Regions from separate parts of the Homo sapiens genome. Here region 2 is linked to region 1. The links are contacts of gene promoters, found by promoter capture Hi-C in blood cells and fetal thymus (Javierre and others, 2016). All regions are on one chromosome and are shown on one strand. The core of a region is centred on a gene start or on the middle of the fragment in contact, and the rest is flanking DNA. Distances in the headings are between cores, read along the strand shown. Region 1 holds the start of TTC17 (tetratricopeptide repeat domain 17). Region 2 has its middle 7.5 kb from the start of LINC02687.

The links. Contacts are between HindIII fragments. The CHiCAGO score rates a contact against its expected background, and 5 or more counts as called.
Region 2: a fragment that was not itself captured here is called in contact with the fragment with the promoter of TTC17 in region 1 in 1 of 17 cell types (non-activated CD4 T cells); the score reaches 5.8 in non-activated CD4 T cells.

The regions. Positions count from the first base shown.
Region 1 is chr11:43,356,808-43,361,739 of GRCh38, reverse strand. It overlaps TTC17 (tetratricopeptide repeat domain 17), which reads right to left and starts at 2,820. Exons shown (of 24, transcript NM_018259.6): 1 at 2,627-2,820. The coding sequence starts at 2,785. RefSeq lists a silencer at 2,482-2,561 and an enhancer at 2,692-2,961. The HindIII fragment of the contact is 2,829 bases long and covers 411-3,239 here.
Region 2 is chr11:45,361,446-45,366,346 of GRCh38, reverse strand. No RefSeq gene overlaps it. Among named protein-coding and RNA genes, the nearest start is that of LINC02687, 7.5 kb to the left of the region's middle. The HindIII fragment of the contact is 7,844 bases long and covers 1-4,901 here.

The DNA.
Region 1 (4,932 bases), core at 1,571-4,070:
CAAGAATAAGCAGCAAGAATTTGGTATGTCAGGACAAAGTATACAGATGGTCCCCACCTTTCGATGGTTCAACTTATAATTTCTTGACTTTACAATGCTGCAAAAGTGACATGCATTTGGTAGCAACTGTACTGAGTGCCCATATAACCATTCTGTTTTTCACTTTCAGTGAAGTATTCATGAATTACATGAGGTATTTTGATACTTTATTGTAAAAGATGCTGTTAGATGATTTTGCCCAAATTTGGCTAATGTAAGTATTGTGAGCACGTTTAAGGTAGGTTAGGCTAAGCTACAATGTTTGGTAGGTACATTAAATGCATTTTTGACTTACAGTATTTTCGACTTACAATGAGTTTATCAGCACATAACCCCTTCATAAGCTGAGGAGCATCTGTATATACTAAGCTTTTAATTATGTTTCTGAATGTACAAATCTGCAATATATATGGATTTCATACACTAATGTGATCTTTCAAGTCCTTAAGTACAGTATATACAAATATTATAATTAATCACGATCTAAATTGATAGTTTGGATTCTACCTGCATACAAATTATGGCCAGGAAGGGAAGCATGGGTCATGCACAATCAGCTATCAGAGTGGAACTCGGCAGCTCACCACAGCACCCAATTCTTTTACTTTATTTATATGTGGTGCCTTTTCTTCAGATTAAATCCAACTTTCCTCCCCTGGCCTCTTATTGTTACACTGCAGACACCAACCTTATTTCTTCTGGCATAAAATCTTGTGGCTGCCTGAACATAACATTGTAAATGTTATGTATAGCAAAGTATTGGAAAATTCAATGAAAAGGATCACTTAAAAAGTCATGTAATAGAGAAATCTTGCTTTTTAAACTTTAAGCCTAATTACTTAGCTCAGCAGTGACTTGGCAGAGATCCAAAAGATTCTTCAGCTCTTCCCTGCTTCTCTGAGGCAAGTTTCCAGTAACCCCTGCCTTCCCCCATTAATACATATGTATCCAAAGTGCAAAAAGAAGGAATTTGTTAAAAAAAAAAAAAAAATCAGACTCTACTTTCCCATTGCAATGTTAAGTATATACATAAAACATTTCTACCAGCTTTCACTTTTTAGATGGGCTACTTTTTCAGCTGAGTGGTAGGACACCAAAATGGGAAGGAGAAGTCAATGTCATAGAGTATAAATAGCTGTGGCCAAAAACAATATTGCAGAAGAGCCAACAGGAGAAAGGCTCCCCAAAATGCAGCAGGAGTGACTTAATTCCACGTCTTCATAGAGACCTCAGGGAAAACCACTATCAAGAAACAAAAGAAGGGTGGAAGCAACCAGCACTCACATATGGTCTTACAGTGTTTTCTTGGGTTTCTGAAACACATACACATATATTTAAAGTCTCAGATAGTATGGCAATGAAAAGGAAACTGTTCTTTATGTATGTCATATAGAAAACGTTACCCAATAGGAACACGGTCTTTTCTTAGATATGCTGAAAACCACTCATGAATACCTAGGCGGATTTTTAGTTATACTTAACTTACTTGAGATAGAATTTGCAATTACATTACACGGCAAATCTAAATCTAAACCTCACCTTAAACGTTGGAATGTGTTCCTATCATGATTCATTACACACAATCCAAAGGACCAGTAATTTCCCACCACACTAGTTAAAACGTTTTAGATCAGTGGGCTAAATTGCATGGGGCACACAATTCACTTTCTAAATGTTTGCTAGACACTTCAAGATTGTCCTCAAGTGTTCGAAGTCAGTAAGTTTACCAATATTCTGTAGCGGAACACACACACGCACTCGTTAGGCATCAGCAGCATTTACAAAACGCAGGCAATCATAAAGTTATATAAGAAAAGCAGTCTCGCCTCTGAGGAATTAGTTCAGGCATACAAGAATCCAGGAAATCGCATATCCTCCATGCGAGGCTGGGTCACAAGAACTAGGTAAAGAAACAAAGCAAAGTGCACTGGGAAACGAGGGCAGTAACAGCTGAAAAGATGCAGGCAACGCCACCAGCGGCATCTTCAAGCATTCCTTCTGAAGGGGAGTGTTTCTATGTTGTTTCTAATGAGCCACTGCTGACCTGAGTAACGGTACAAGCTGAAACCAACACAACCAGAAACGAAATCCACCATGTGGTAGACGAGACTAGGGGAGCAGCACGAATGGTCCACAGGCTAGGGGTCCAGAAGCTGTCATACCATGGGACTCGCGCACACCCTGGAGCTGCCACCTGCTTTCTATTTCCTCGGGGAGGGCCGGTGACGCGTGAACCCGAGAGGCACCAAAGGCAGGAATCCTGAAATCTGTGATTTCTAAACCCCGAGCTAAAAAAAGGTCCGTAGGGCCCGTCTCCCGCAGCTGGGCGACTCTTCCCCACGCGGCGCGCGGCCCGCGAGGTGGAAGGGTGAGAACTTCTAGGGGGCCAAACGAGGACCAGGAGACAAGTGGGGAGCGGGAAGTGCCTGCCTGGTCCGAATGCAGGGAGTCCGAGGTCGCGGTGCCACCTCCCTGTGAGGGTAGGCTGGGGGCGGGGCCGCGCGGAGCCCAACAGCCAGGGGCCAAGCAGGGTAATCCCCCCGGGGCGAGGGCGGGCACGGGAGAAGAGGGACGCCCCGGCCGCTACCTGCTGCTGGATTTTCCCGTCCTCCGTGACGACCCAGTGCGTGGTGGCGAAGGCCCCTCGTGCCGCCACACTCAGCAAGGCGGAAAGGCTGAGGAGCCAGCCTGGGCCGGAGCAAGGCGGCAGCTCGTACCGGCCACGAACCCCTACTGCCGCCGCCATCTTGCCCCCCCGGCCGGGCCGCTCACACCGGAAGCGGAAGCTAGTCTCCGGCGCCCGCCATCTTGAAGAGGTCGGCCCTGGAGGAGGAGCAGGAGGAGGAGCCGAGAGGGCGTAGCTCGCTGACTACCAAGTTTCCTCCACCTCGGTTTTGGCGGCCAGGAAGCGCGACCTTCGGCTACTCTCCCAGCTTGGCTTCAGGGATGGAGACCGCTTTTTAGTTATTGTTTTTCTGTGGGTGATACGATCTCGGAGCGTGGGAACCGGAGGGAGACAAAAGCAGTGGCTTAGGTGGCGCTTAAGCAGAAGTGAAAGGACTCAATTTTATTGTTTTTTAAATCTTTGTTTTTTCGTTTTATTTCTGGTAGATAGTTGGGGAACAAAAGGTGTGCTTTCGAACCACCTATGGGAAGAGAGGTGTTGCTTTTATTCTTAAAGTCTCACAATAGTGGAAGCTTCAGAATGGAGACGGTTGTTAGTTTAGGGCACCGCTGTCCAGTAGCACTATAATGCGAGCCACGTGTGGAATGTAAAATATAGAGGGAAGTAACCCTACTAGTACATTTTATTTAACTCAAAGTACACAAAATATTAATTCAATGTGGTCTGTACAAATCATTGAGATAGTTTAGTTTTTTTTTTTTTAACTAAGTCTTGGAAATCGGCATGTTACACTGACAGCTTATCTAGTCATATTTCAGGGGCTTAATACCCGCATGTGGCTAACGTACTGGTCAGCACAGGTCTAAGCTAGAGGTCTAGGTCTGGAGACCAGAAACATTGGCATCACCTGGGAGCTTTTTAGACCTGCACATTCTCGGCTCTTCTCCCTCTCCCCCGCAACCTGCTGAATCAGACTACATTTTAACAATAGCCTCAGGTGACTGGTATACATATTAAAGTTTGAGAACCACTTTCTTCTAGTGAACCAACAGGCAGGCAGGCAGGCGTCAAGCTTGGCTGCCAGCTTCTTGCTAGATATGTCATTTTAGGTCTTTCAAGATTGCCCTCTGTGTGTGTTATTTAAGGTTGGTATGCTTTTGGTTTTCTCCTTGGGAAAAGAAGGATGAGAATATTGTTTAACCACTTCTCTACACAAGTGTATGCAGGAGAGCAGTTGCTAAGTGTTTAAACACCACGCTATAGAAATGTAGAAACAACCACAGCATTGGTGTTTTTTTTTTCTTCATTCCAGGAACAGCTTTTCTTAAAGGCCTGAAGACTGAACATTCATTTCATTAAAAATATATGGCTTATTTGCTTTTTGCCTGGTACTCTGATAGTCTCTGGGTATGGAAATGTAACCATTGGGCAGTGTGCAATATAGTGAGATATTATTGGCAGGTTAACAATTAAAATACAGGATAATGGGGGTGTATGAATGCATATGTACAGGAGAGAGCAACCAACCAGGTGAAAAAAAGGTTTGGAGCTCAGGTGCTGGTTCAGGCAGAATAATAAGTGAAAAGGTGAAGTTGGCCGGGCGCGGTGGCTCACGCCTGTAATCCCAGCACTTTGGGAGGCCGAGGTGGATGGATCACTGAGGTCAGGAGTTCAAGACTGGCCTGGCCAAGATGGTGAAACCCCGCCTCTACTAAAAATACAAAAATCAGCCGGGCATGGTGGCGGGCACCTGTAATTCCAGCTACTTGGGAGGCTGAGGCAGAGAATTGCTTGAACACGGGAGGCGGGGATTGCAGTGAGCCGAGATCACACCACTGCACTCCAGCCTAAGTGACAGAGCGAGAATCCGTCTCAAGAAACGAAAAGGTGAAGTCAGTGGCATGTTTTAAGAGTTTCTTGGAGTTTAGACATAGGCAATAGGGAGTGTTTCAGAATTTTAAAATAGAGAAGTGGCAAATGATGGAATCCCTTTTGTCTCAGCATCTTATTTTTGGGGCATAGAGGTCAACCCTATTTCTTGTGTATAAAGCTGACATCATCATCATCTAACATTTCTTGAGTGTTTAATACGTACTGGGTCCTGTACATGCATAGTTCCTATTAATCGTCACAACTTACCAAGCTCTGGCTAGTTAAGTAAGTTGGCCAAGATCATATTGCTAAGTGGTAGAGCTCAGGTTTGGACTCAGATCCACCTGACTCTAGATCTGAGAGCCTGAGAATGAATGAATGTTAGTGAGGAATTT
Region 2 (4,901 bases), core at 1,143-3,642, 2.0 Mb before region 1:
CACAGAACAAGGCCAGTGTTGGCAGCTCTGAGGAACAGAGAGGTTCCAGGCTCTTCTGACAGGAAAGGCCCACTTACTGAGAGCAGTCCTGAGCGAAATGACGTTATCCTACCCAGGAATCAGGGTGGGTTTTTGGATTGTTGTTTTTGCTGTTCAACTGCTTTTGTTGTTTTTTCGAGTGTCGCTGGAGTTATTAACTGCGGAGAGTTCAGTTGGCAGATGAGGAACAAGGGGGCCACAGAAAAGAGCCAATTTGCTCAAGGACCCAGGGCAAACGTGTGGCAGCACTGAGGATGACAAAAGTCCCGATGACAACAGTGGATCGTGGCGCTTGCTGTAAAGTGTCAGACACTGTGCTAAGCATCATCATCCCTCACCTTCATGACAACTAAAAAGTAAACATCATCACCCACACTTTACAGAGAAGGAAACTGAGGCATAGAGGAGGCAAGATACTTGTTAGAGGCCACACATTGGCCAACTCTGGAGCCCATGTAGCCCACTGCCATGCAATTCTGCCTCCCTCAGGTACGGCTTTCTGGCATCCAGACTTTTCCTGGAGGACTTTTTGCAACTGCTGATTGGCGAAGGGGAAAATCTAATTTTTTAAGGATAATGAAGAAAGGGAGGAAGGGAAGAGAAGAAACAGAATATAAGAGACAAGTTGGCCCCTGTAATAAAATGTCATCCCACAAGATGTAAGGCAACAGTCTTTAATAGACTTCGAGATTCAATTATCCCTTTATATGTGCAGCAGACCCATCATCGTCTAAATCATCCATTCGCCGTGAATACACCCTAATTCACAAATAAAATATAAAGCAAATCAAGTTTGAGAGCTGTGTAGCCTCTGAGCCATCACTCCTCGAAGACACACACCTCAGCATTCACTCCCAAGGGAAGAAGGTTAATAAAAGCCTTGGGCACTGTCTCTAGCTCAAGGCCTAGGGCATGTCTCACAGATGGCTAAGAAGAGCTCTGTGATTCAGATGCAGAATCCATCTTTTCCATTCTGGGGCTTTTAAAGCATGTTCTTCTGATCTCTCCTGGCCACCCTCTCTCAAGCCCTCAGATGGCAACTCTTGACTCTCTCTGGATCATTCCCATTTTCTCCCCCAAAAGACTTTACAGATGTGATATCTCCATTGAATGCCAACATATTCAATTTTTCTAGCAGCTGCCAGGGTAAGGACATGCCAGCTCAGCCCCACTTTTCTAGGTAGCCCCACTTTTCTTCTTTGGCACATGCATCAGCCTTGCCAGAAAGGCTGATGATCCACCCTGCACAGGTCCCATTTAACTAGCTCCTAAATCCCACTTCCTATTCTGTCCGTCTCCAGTATTTTTTTTTTTAGTTTTCCTCCTTTAAGTTATAAAAGTAATACATGTTCATTGTAACAGGTTATTCAACAGAGTTGTATAAAGCAAAGTTCCTTATTCTCATCTAGCCCAATTTCACATACCAGTGAGTTACCAACAGTCTGATATGTGCAGTGGTGTGATCTTGGCTCACTGCAACATCTGCCTCCTGGGTTCAAGTGATTCTCCTGCTCCAGCCTCCTGAGTAGCTGGGATTACAGGTGCCCACCACCACACCTGGCTAATTTTTGTATTTTTAGTACAGACGGGGTTTCACCGTGTTGGCCAGGCTGGTCTTGAACTCCTGACCTCAGGTGATCTGCCCGCCTCGGCCTCCCAAACGGTTAAACATGATTTTTGCTTTTATTTTTTTCTTACAAATATGAGATCACACCATACATATTTCTCTACATCTTGTTATTCAGAATTAACAAAATATCATGGATGTCTTTTCAGGTAAGATAAGGATGTCTGTTCCATTCTTTTCAATTATGTTGCATGCATGATTTTATGTGGTATGACTGAGACATCATTTACTAAGCCATCCTATATCCTGACCCTCCTAGATGGCATGCCTGGTCTCTCATATCTCTGAATGGCATGGTTTCCCTCCATTGATAAACCGCTTATCTTTGGCAAGGCCGTTTCCACGATGGCTTAGCCTTGGAGAGGGGAGTCCTTTTCCATGCAATATTCCTGAGAACAGTCCCTGCCAAGGTAATCTCCTGGCCTTTCAGGAAAGACCCAGACAGACTTGTAAAAGCCGGTTTCACTGCCATGAAATCTGGACTTCCTTTGGCAATGAAAAAACAAAACAAAACACAAAGCATAACTAAACCCTTAAGATATCATAAACAGGCAAGCAAAAATACAACACATAAACCCAATACCCGCCAGGAAGACTTAGGAAAACAATCCTTGAGAACGCAAAAAGACGTTGTTTATCAAAGAAAGATTTTTATAATGCCAATGCTGCATTTTATTAGAGAGAGAAGAGGCCTGAAGAGGAGGCAGCCTACAGAAGATTTCTGTACTCATTTAAACTGAATGCTAAAACACTCTATGCCTGAAATGTTGCAAAACTGGAAGTAAATTCTTTGAGGCAATCTGCTTTCCTAGAGCTCTTTTATGGAAGTCACATTCGAACGGTTTTAGAAATCAAAATGAAATCTCATAAAATGTATTAAGAGTTTGTCCCCTTTAGAACTAGTTACACCATTTCTGGAACTCTATCCTAAAAAAAAAAAACAAAAAACAAAAAACAAAAACAAAAAAAAAACAGGAATGCCAGCAAAGATACACATATGAGGATATTTATCCAGCATTACTTATAATTTTAAAAAATAGAAAACAAACTAAATGGTCTAAAACAGGAAAATGTAATAGTACGCAACTATTAAAAGAGATATTCACAGTATTGAATTCCAAGAATAAATGCTTATGTTATGATATTAAGAGAGAAATACAATTGTATGTTCAATCTGTGTAAAAATACACATAGAAAACAGTGGAAGGAAATAAATACACCAGCATATTAACAGTGGTTATCTCTGGGTGGTAGAACCACATATTTTTTTCTTCTTCTCTTTCACTTTTCTGTAATTTAAAAACTTTCTAAAATTAACCTGCATTACTTTTATAATGGATTAAATTAAACCACACAAAAAAATAGAATTGATTCTACTGACTATTTTTAGGATCATGGGCTGGTACATATGACAAGGAACAGGCATGGATTAGGCTAAGGGTTTTCTGGGTTGGGGGCAGTGATGGAGAAAATCCTCCAGCTTTTTGGTATCTTTAAGGGTGTGGACCCTCTAATCCAATACCTTCTACAGAACAATTAGCACACAATGAAAACTTAATAACATCAAATAGATGACATTGCCAATTCACTCGACATTTAGTATGCACATACTATGTGCCAGGCACTAGGAGGAAATAACCAACTTTGTATTCTAGATCATTTAAAAAAAAAATCAAAACTACACTTTGTCCCTATCATCATATATGAAATGTAGCACATTGATTCCCTCAATTTTCCTTCCATTGTTTTCAGAAAGGCAAACAAAAAGAAAAATGAACAAGTTGAGATTTGCCGTGGACATCAGGAAGGAACATATTGGAAGTAATCCCAGGACCTTCAACCGTCTCTGTTAAGTGTGTTTATTCTTCGTTAGAGCCAGCTCTGGGAAAAGAGGCAGCCAGGCAGTTATCAAACCAAGGTTTCCAGTTTCTCCTGCCTGTTCTGAAAAATTTTGACAGATGGGTCCTCTCAGCAGGACCAGTAAATTGTTATTAATCCATTCATTCAATCAATACCTACTATGTGTCACCCTCTTTTAGGAGCTGGGAGCAATGCAGAGAATCAAGGTCCTTGCACTCATGGTACTTACATTCTAATGCAAGAGACAGGCAACAGACAAATAAAATAGAAACTAATATTATTCAGGTCATGATCACTGCTATGGAAAAATTAATAAGACAGATTAAGGAATAGAGTGACAAAAGGCTCTTTTCTAGATAGAGTATTAAGAAAAGTCTTCCCTAAAGAGGTGATATTTGAGCAGATGACTGAGTAATTGAGAGGATTGAGTGAGATGAGTATTTGGAGTAGTGTTCTATGTTGAAAGAGCAAATGCAAAGGCCCTGAGGCAGGAATGCGCAAGAAAAGCCATCTAGCAGGAGCACTGTGAGCAAAGAGGAGAACAGATAGAAAGTGAAGTCAGGGATGAAGTCAGGCTAGATCATGTAGGGTCTTTTGGGGCATGGTAAAGGCTTCTGATTGTATTCTAAGAGTGATGAGGGGCCACTGGATAGTTTTGAGCTGGTGGGGTGGGGTAAAATGATCTGATTCAGGTTTTAAAAAATCACTCTGGCTACCATGTCAGGGGAACAAGTGTAAATACGAATTTGAGCTAAGATGCTGTTGCAGAGACCCCGTGAAAGATGATGGCGGGGATGATGAGAAGCAGTACAATTCGAGGTGTATTTTTAAGATGGAGTTCATGACTGAATGTGAGGCAAGAGCAGAAAAGCATCAAGGAAGATTCTAAGGTCTTCTGGCATAAGAAACTGAGTAAATGTTGGTGCTATTTAGTGATATGGAAATACGGGGGGAGGAGTGGGTGTTTTGTTTTGTTTTAAAGGGACATAGCAGATGCTGTTGATACCCAGCCCATATCCCTTTGGCTTTACCACATCAGTGCACACTGGTTTACTTTCAACTGTAGCATTTGCATCTTTTTGCCTGCGGGTTTTCTCCTAAACTGGAGAGAACCACTCTGCCTGTGTGCCCAGCACACCACATGGGAGCAGCTGTTAATAACCTACACTCACAAGTTGGTGTATAAATACCTCAGCTCCCTTCCCTGAGTGGGAGTGGGAAGACAGATCATTCTGACCTGTGTGTCCTACACCACCATTCCCAGGATTCACCAGTGGAATTGAGCTCCAGTCTTCCACGGGAGTAGCAATCCTTTATTGGCCTTTCTCCCTTCCCAGCTTGTTCTCAATTCCCTGCCAACGGTTCCTGAACCTCC